Linked DNA regions of Homo sapiens: region 2 is linked to region 1. Evidence: promoter capture Hi-C in human tissues and cell types (Jung and others, 2019). All regions are on one chromosome and are shown on one strand. The core of a region is centred on a gene start or on the middle of the fragment in contact, and the rest is flanking DNA. Distances in the headings are between cores, read along the strand shown. Region 1 holds the start of DEFB103B (defensin beta 103B). Region 2 has its middle 11 kb from the start of ZNF705G.

The links. The method cuts DNA at HindIII sites, captures the fragments that hold promoters and counts their contacts. A contact is called where the count stands out against the background at its distance.
Region 2: a fragment that was not itself captured here is called in contact with the fragment with the promoter of DEFB103B in region 1 in 4 of the 25 tissues and cell types used here (H1 embryonic stem cells, mesenchymal stem cells, mesendoderm cells and 1 more).

The regions. Positions count from the first base shown.
Region 1 is chr8:7,427,695-7,431,973 of GRCh38, reverse strand. It overlaps DEFB103B (defensin beta 103B), which reads left to right and starts at 1,626. Exons shown (of 2, transcript NM_018661.4): 1 at 1,626-1,901; 2 at 2,845-3,086. The coding sequence starts at 1,844. The coding sequence ends at 2,990. The HindIII fragment of the contact is 16,895 bases long and covers 1-4,279 here.
Region 2 is chr8:7,394,670-7,399,156 of GRCh38, reverse strand. No RefSeq gene overlaps it. Among named protein-coding and RNA genes, the nearest start is that of ZNF705G, 11 kb to the right of the region's middle. RefSeq lists enhancers at 2,396-2,972, 2,973-3,549, 4,463-4,487. The HindIII fragment of the contact is 6,506 bases long and covers 1-4,487 here.

The DNA of each region.
Region 1 (4,279 bases), core at 377-2,876:
CCCACACTCACCTCCTTCCCCCATTTATAAATATCTCCAATTGCTTTGTCTCAAATCATGAACTAAAGAGGAAAGTTAGATTTTAAAAAGTAGCATCTACCTATCTAAAGTCTTAAATCTGCTGATTGAGCTCCACTCTTGGCTCAAAGAGTTATCTTTGAGTTATGATGAGTTATCTTTCTTCTACGTTTCTGCAGCCCTGTGCTTGAAATCTTCCTATGACTCCCATTATAATTCATCCTAAATTTATCATTTGACTGTCTGCCCATCTACCTGGCCCTACATGGAGCTTCTGGAGAGAAAGAACCAAGACTGGTCCCTCTTGGTATCTCATCCACTTCACCCTCACCTATGCTGAAGACATGATACTTGTCCCTTCCTATAGTATGTGTTCAGAGTTTTCTTACTGAATCTGACAGGTGTGGTGCACCCAAATTCTGAACACACACTCCCAGAACTAACACACCCTTGATCCTTAGTGGATCCGTTATAATTGCATTCACACGAAGCAGCAGCTAGGAGACATCACGGTGACTTCAGCTCCCAATTGAATTGTCATTGACTTACTTAGTTCCCAATTGATAGTCAACCAAATACAACCCATCCATTGGATTCCTGAACATTTAAGTTTAATAGCTGTTTTTTTTTTCTTTTTTAGCATTTTTCCCTCTAAACGTTGAATCTATATGCAGGGGAAATCATCTGGCCCCTGGACTGCCTTGAATGCTCCTGAGCCAAGAGTAACTTGAGGTCTTAAATGTCTATTCTGAAGCCCCTCTTTTGCACAGGGACAGTCATTGACTAGGAGGAGATGCCAGTCTATTAAATCTATCATCCCAGCATCCTCTTTCTCTGATGAAGTAAAATTAAACACCTTCTTTACTCATAAATTTGGTAGGTTTTAGACAATGATGAAGAATCGGACATGGGCCGCACACAGTGGCTCATACCAGTAATCCCAGCAATTTAGGAGGCTGAAGCAGGAGGATTGCTTGAGCCCAGGAGTTCACATCTGGGCTCGAAACCAGTCTGGGCAGCATAGTGAGACCCCATTTTATTTTCTACAGAAAATTTAAAATTTAGCCATGTGTGGAGGTATGCGTTTGTGGTCCCAGCTACTCAGGGGGCTGAAGTGGGAGGACCTCTTGAGCCTGACAGCTCAAGCTGTTGTGAGCTGTAATCATGCCACTGCACTCCAGCCTGCACAAAAAAGTGAGACTCTGTCTCTCAAAAAAAAAAAAAAAAAATGAAAGAATGAGACATGTTTCACTCAAATTATAGCACCCCATCATAGGCCAAGGGCCAGGTGGTCAGCTAACCTTGAATGTAGCCCATTTTCCTCCCTTACCTCACTACCAAAAAGCCAGTCCTATTGCCAGATATTGAATATGTCCAGGGCTGGATTTATTTGGTCCCCAGGAGGGTCTTAGACTCTCCCAGCATTTTAGGAAGAGAAAAAAAGCTCCAAAGCAGCAAAGTACGGACAAGTCAGCCCCCAGCCACATGCCCTGAGACTATTCCCCAAAGGGGGCATACTTGCTCATGCCAGCCCTATCTGTACCCACAACCCAATCTGACCCACACCCAGACAAGCCCCTGGAGTCCAGAGAGCACCCGGACAGCCACAAATCCATAGGGAGCTCTGCCTTACCATTGGGTTCCTAATTAACTGAGTGAGTGGGTGTGTTCTGCATGGTGAGAGGCATTGGAATGATGCATCAGAAAACATGTCATAATGTCATCACTGTAATATGACAAGAATTGCAGCTGTGGCTGGAACCTTTATAAAGTGACCAAGCACACCTTTTCATCCAGTCTCAGCGTGGGGTGAAGCCTAGCAGCTATGAGGATCCATTATCTTCTGTTTGCTTTGCTCTTCCTGTTTTTGGTGCCTGTTCCAGGTAAGATGGGCTGGGAAATCTAAGGATTGATCTAATTGAGAATATATAATTCAGAGTCAGTATTTCTCCATCCTTCAGAGTGCTTTGGACCAAGCAGGTTTGTTGTATGGGAACTAGGCATCACCACTTTTTTTTCAGACAAGAATCATTAAGAGGCCAGGTGCGGTGGCTCATGCCTGTAATCTCAACACTTTGGGAGGCCGAGGTGGGCGGATCACGAGGTCAGGAGTTCAAGACCAGCCTGGCCAAGATGGTGAAACCCCATCTCTACTAAAAATACAAAAATTATCTGGGCACAGTGGCGGGCACCTGTAATCCCAGCTACTCGGGAGGCTGAGGCAGAGAATTGCTTAAACCTGGCAGGCGGAGGTTGCAGTAAGCCGAGATCACGCCACTGTCCTCCAGACTGGGTGACAGGGTGAGAGTACACCTCAAAAAAAAAAAAAAAGAAAAGAATCATTAAGAAACTAAATAGCTCCCCAAAGCTATCTCTTTCCCCAACTCTTCAAGGGAAGATTATTATACCAGCTGATGAGACATGAATCAGACATAAAAGTTTAATGTAGCAGGAAAGATTGATTTACTCTGAGAATAGAAGCACAGGCTCCTGTTCTACTAAGTGCAATGGTTGGAGGTGGAGTGTTGGGGCTACCTCTGAGGACACCACAGCCTCAGCACCCCCACTGTTCCTGCGGCAGTCACAGGGTCACGCCACTTCCCCGGTGCCACTGTGGGTCCACAGCTGAGCTGCAGCCTTAGAAACATTGTCTATGGGTTGTGTAGTCATACCTTCATCTTCCTCCTGATTTTATAGAAAAAGGAAAAAGAAACAAAAGAATACAAGAAAAGCAAGGGATGAGTTATTTGAGGAATTCCACAAGCCTTGTACGTGTACCAAAAGCCTTCCTAAAACCTTTCCGTGTGTGCTGTTTTGTCATTGCAGGTCATGGAGGAATCATAAACACATTACAGAAATATTATTGCAGAGTCAGAGGCGGCCGGTGTGCTGTGCTCAGCTGCCTTCCAAAGGAGGAACAGATCGGCAAGTGCTCGACGCGTGGCCGAAAATGCTGCCGAAGAAAGAAATAAAAACCCTGAAACATGACGAGAGTGTTGTAAAGTGTGGAAATGCCTTCTTAAAGTTTATAAAAGTAAAATCAAATTACATTTTTTTTTCAAAAAAAATTAGGAGCTTGATTTTTTTTTTTAAATCTGATTATTTTGGTACTTGTTTCCAAACAGACAACTCAGAAAATCTTAAGGACTCACCTTTCGTTCAAAGAAAGTAGAATCTCTGGAGAAATCTATAAGGGAGCCCAACCTTATTATCCAAGGGTTATCAGGTTCTATTCCTACTTTGTGAACGTTATGCCCCAGTGAAGTTGGACTCTTCACTCTCTTGGAATATGCCCTTTGCTTTCATGTCATCCAAGCCTTGGGCCTTTTCAGTCCCTCTACCCCAAATGGCATCTCTCCACCAAATCTATCTCTAAGGTTTTCATGCATCCCTCAGGGGCTATCCCAATTCCTTCCAAAAACTTTGTCTTCAGAGAAATAAGGAAACTGGCTCTTCCTCAGATATTCACTTTGCTTTCTCTCACCCATGCCTCTGCTCTGGTTGACCTCATGTCTGCCTCACTCCTCCAACTTCATCTCTAAACTTTAACCTGTCCTTCAGGGACCGTCTCACATTTTATCTCCACCTTAAAAACACAGGTGATTTCCCAAATGCTTACAGTCTTTCCTCTGGTTCACCACAGGGTTCTGACTTGAGTCCTCCATCTACAACCCTTGCTTGGTTTTTACATTGCGTACAGTGACATATTGCCAATCTCCATATTAGACTTTGTGAGCCTTAAAAGCAAGGAGTTTGTCTTAATTCTTCCTGTACTGCTTGTAAAGTGCCCTGAGCATGAAGGCTGCTCAACAAGTATTTATGAATTGAAGTACATTCAAACGATTTATTGATTGAATTATCTTTAATCATTCAAATGATTTGGAGGTACTGCAGTTTAACTATCTAGTGCTCTCTCAACGTTGATGCAGTAGGATTCCAGCAAATGGAGTGTGTGGTTTTTCATACCTGACACCAGACCCCACTCATGGCTCCACGTATGGAGAAAAGACAATACAACAAGGCTCTTAGGAAGAAAGGCTCAAGGGCTCAAAAAGATGAGACTGCTCCTCACTTTCCATCCAAAATGGACTCACTGCTATGGGAATCTCCCTCTGACAGCAGACAAAAGGGAACCTGTCAAGATGTGTGACAGCTGTGTTCAGACATTGGATAATAAGCAGTGCAACAGACCAATGAAGTGAGACTTTCGATTGCCCCCAGCTCACTACAGCAGCAGGGTCCAGACCACAGCACACAGAGG
Region 2 (4,487 bases), core at 728-3,227, 33 kb after region 1:
TAAAGGCATTTTCTAATGACAATAACAAAAACTAAGAGAATTCCTCACTAGCAAACTTGTAGTATAAAACAAGACCCAAATACACGCTGTCTATAAAAACCCAATGTCTTTATCAAATATAAGGACAAAGATAGGTTGATAGTAAAGGGACAGAAAGAGTTATAGTATGGAAACATTAATCTAATGAAAACAGAATTAGCTGTATCGGCTAACTGACTATAAATCAAAGTAGATTTTACAGCAAGGTGTATTATTACTGATAAAGAGCCTATGTTTTCCAGTGATAAAGTTGTTAAATCACCAAGAACACATATCATTATTATTAAATTAGTATGCACCTAATAAGAGAATCTCAAAATTTTTAAAAAGAAATTGATAGAACTAAGAGAAGAAATTGAAAAATTAAGAATTACCATTGAATATTTCAACACTTTTTTCTTTGAAATAGTTTTTTTAGCAGCAAAGTATAAATAAAGATAGAGAGAACTTGAACAACAGTATCATCCATTATGACCTATATAAGCTTTACAGGACACTCCTCCCAATAACAGTAAAATGCATTGAAATATTACCTAAGAGAGCTCATATTGGACTAAGAAACAAAAAAATCAAAACAATTTAAAATCATATGTAGCGTAATGTCTATCCACAGTGGAATGTATGAAGCTGTGACTAAAGGAAAATAGCTGGAAAATTCCTCACATATTTGGACATTACTCAACATATTTCTAATGAGTCAAAGGAGAAATTTAAAAATATTTTCACATGACAGCAAATGGAAACATAACATACCAAAATTTGTGGCAATACAACAAAAGCAGTGCTTGGAGGGAAATTGATAACATTAACTGCTATTATGATGCGAAGTCGAAAGCTCAGAAATAGACAATCTAATATTCCATTGTAAAAAACCTGGGGAAAAAAGAACTAATTAAGCTGAAAGTAAATAGGAAAACGAGTGAATAAAAAAGAATGTGGACACAAAAGAGAATATTAAAAATAAATAAACGAAAGCTACTTGCTTGAGAGAATGCATAAAATTGTGAGAACTCTCGATAGGTTCCTTAAGGGGAAAAAGGAAATTACTAGAAGTCTCAGGTGCACACCCAGGCTTCAGGCAGGCAGGAAACAGATTAGGTCTGCGTTTCAGGGTCATGTAGTCAGGCCGCCACGAGGTGGCAGTAACTGCGCGCTCATTCCCTCACCTCCTGCAAGGCCGGGCCAGGCTGTGGACTCACCGCTCAGCTCAGGAGATGGGAGAGGGTGACAGTAGCCGCGTGGACTCTGGCCTTACGCAGAGCGTTACTGTAGCTTTGGGGTTGTAGGAGGATGAAGAGGGGGAGGTTATCAGGACACCATGGTGATTGTGTGGTGCTGGTTAGGAACATGGGCTTTGAAGAGAGAGGGATTTTATTTCAAATTCCATCTCTGCCACTTAGTAGTCAGATGACATTGAACATGTCCTCTAACCTTTCTAGGCCCCAGGACCTGCCTCTGTAAACTTGGGTAATAACCCCCTGGCATGTTTGCTTCTGAGGATTAAATGAGATAACTTGTATAAAAATGGCCACGGCAAGGCCGGCTGCAAAATTCCCAAGGCTCAGTGCAAAGTGGAAATGCAGGGCGCCTTGTTCAAAGAGCAGCAGAAGAAAGTGTCGTGAAAGGCAGGAGGGTATTCAGCTTTCTCAAGCCAGTATGTTTCATCATTTGAAAAGTGTAATAGGGATAATACTTCTAGAAGAGTAAGAACAGAATCATATAAATCCCCACCAGAAACCAGTGTCACAGTTTTAATAGAATAAATAATAATACTTTATTAATTGGATCTAGATGAATCAAACAATTTTTCTGGCCAACTTTTCTGCAATTAATTTATTAGGTCATCAAACTTTATACCTTGAGCAACTTCATTTTTTCTTCTGAAAAGAATCTGCTGAAGCAACTGTTTCTGGAATATTATCTAAACTCTGACAATATTGGGATAAACTATTTTGACACAAATTTTAGTATATCTGTAGCTGGTGGTTCTTGTGGAGCTATTTTTTTCAAAGCATATAACTGTTTAAGCAAATCAGTTTTATGGAAGTTTGAATTTAATTTTAAGTGTAAATTTCTCCAATGGAATTTTGATGCATCTTCTGACATGTTCTGTAAGTTGCAGAGGCCCACAGCAGACCAAATGTGGCGTCATGATTTGTAACTTACTCAAAACTCCTGTTTTTGAATTCTATTGTTGTATCTTTAACAAGAAGAACTGAATTTTTAAAATTGCTCTACTTGTTAATAATTGATTGATCAGAAGTGTTATTTTCTTTTCTTTTCTTTTCTTTTTGAGGTAGGGTCTCCATCTGTTGACATGATCATGGCTCACTGCAGCCTCAGACTCCTGAACTCGTATGATCTTCCTACCTCAGCCTCCCAAGTAGCTAAGACTACGGGCATGTGCCACTGTGCTCAGCTAATCTTTTTTTTTTTTTTTTAATGTTGGGGTCTAACTATACTGCCCACTATACTGCCTATGGTGGTCTCCAACAACTGGCTTCAAACAGTCCTCTAACCAGAGCTTCACAATGTGCTGGGATAACAGGTGTGACCCACCATGCCTGTCCCATCAGAAGTTTTGTGACTATCATTATATATTTAATTTATATTTCTGAGCCTTGGATAACTCCTTGAAGAACTCTAAACTCTCTGAGGAATTCCAAGAACTCCCTGGCATACTCTTTCACAATGTCCATGGGCACACTTTTGTTTTGTGCTTCTCTCCTCCCAATTTGCTATCTGAGCCCTATGATTCCTGTCCTGGTGCTCAGGTCAGGGGGTAGATATTCGTGCAGAAGCTCCAAGGATGACTCTGAGAATGCACAGGCACAGAGGTGTCAGTGCTGCGTCCACACAGAGACCCTCCTTTCACCCCAGGGCTGAGGACACCTGCTGCTGCGGCTGCCACCTCCCATCCTGGTCCGTTGCCATCTTCCTTCCCAGTCGAGATGTGCCTGGGCCGCTCCAAAGCACCCGTGCTCAGGGCAGCAAGCTCCAACATGTGGCCTTCATGTCCCTGGGCCTGAGCCTGCCCACCTTGTCCCCCCTCATAGCCACTCTGCTCATGTGCCTGCTCCATTGTCTCAGTGGGCTTCACTTACAAAATGAAGTTCAAAGAAAAAAAACTAAGGTCAAGAGGGTGTCGGCAGAGCCTGCTACCAGGCACTGGCCCTTCTGAGGGCAGGTCCCTGTGTCACTGCCCAGCCCTCAAGCCCGTGAAGCTGGTCCTGGCTCCAGAATTGAGAGCCAGTAAAACTGCTTCTGTTATTTATCATTGAGGACACAGTGCAGAGAAACTTTGCTTTCTAAAATTATAGATATGAGAGACTTTGCTTTCTGGGAGCCTATCTAAAGGAATGCCCACTCTTGCCTGGGGAACTGAGCCACTTTGCCACAGAAAACAGCCTGTGGTTTGGGAAAAAACCCATATCTGTGCTGGTGGATAGTCTTCCTTGCTGAAGCAAGATAATAACCCTACCTTTAAGACAAAAGTGCTCCTCCCTTGATCTTTATCAAACACACTGTATCACCAGGATGAACACTGCTCTGAAGGAGTCACATCGGGCTGTGCCAGGAAAAAAGAATAGCTGCAACCATAGGAATCTTCATGGGAACAGTCAGCCCAGCTGTCCTTGAGCAACCAGGCCCATGGTCCCTAAGCCTTGGTGGCTTCTTCCCCAGGGACACAGGTGCTGCATTTCACAGTGACTTTCCTATTTCAGAGCAATTTCACCTCCTTCTCTAACAAGGCCTCACAAATGTACTGAGAGCTAGAGAGGACAACAAGTGTAAAACCACAGTGCTGTCAGTGGTTCCTGGGATTGCAACGGGATTATAGGAGAAATTCACACTCTTCTATGGGTGAGTTTTTAAATGCAAGTGTATTACTTTTATAATAATCATGTTAAGTACAGCAGTCATTAAGGACGTATCAATCAGGAGTGATGCCACACATGAAAAAGATGGGAACCACTCTCTTAACTCAAACTCTTATTTACATATAAGAGTTACGTAATAACTCCAGTAAGGCCCCTTGCCACATACCATGGCATTTCCTTAAGAATGTTTACTCAACAAGGAAAGAGGCGTGACAACCTAATTCGATGTGTGAATCTGGATTGAACATGTACCCAGAAAACTCAACAGCCACGAAGCTATTCTTGGAACAATTTCAATGTCTATGCACTGACTTCTGTTTTGCAATAATTTACTGACACTTTGCTTCCTGAGCACCTACAGCTGCTGTCCCAGTGTTCAGGCCAGGGAAATTTTCTTGTTAATGTGCATAAATGGTAGTGTGATTGATGCGGGAATTTTTTTCTTATTTATAAGAGATACATGCTGAGATAATTAGGGTGAAGTGTCATGACATTTTCCTGCTACTTTCAAAAGGTGACAGCGACATAGAAAGTATATTTTTTAAATTATTTATTAATTTAGACAGA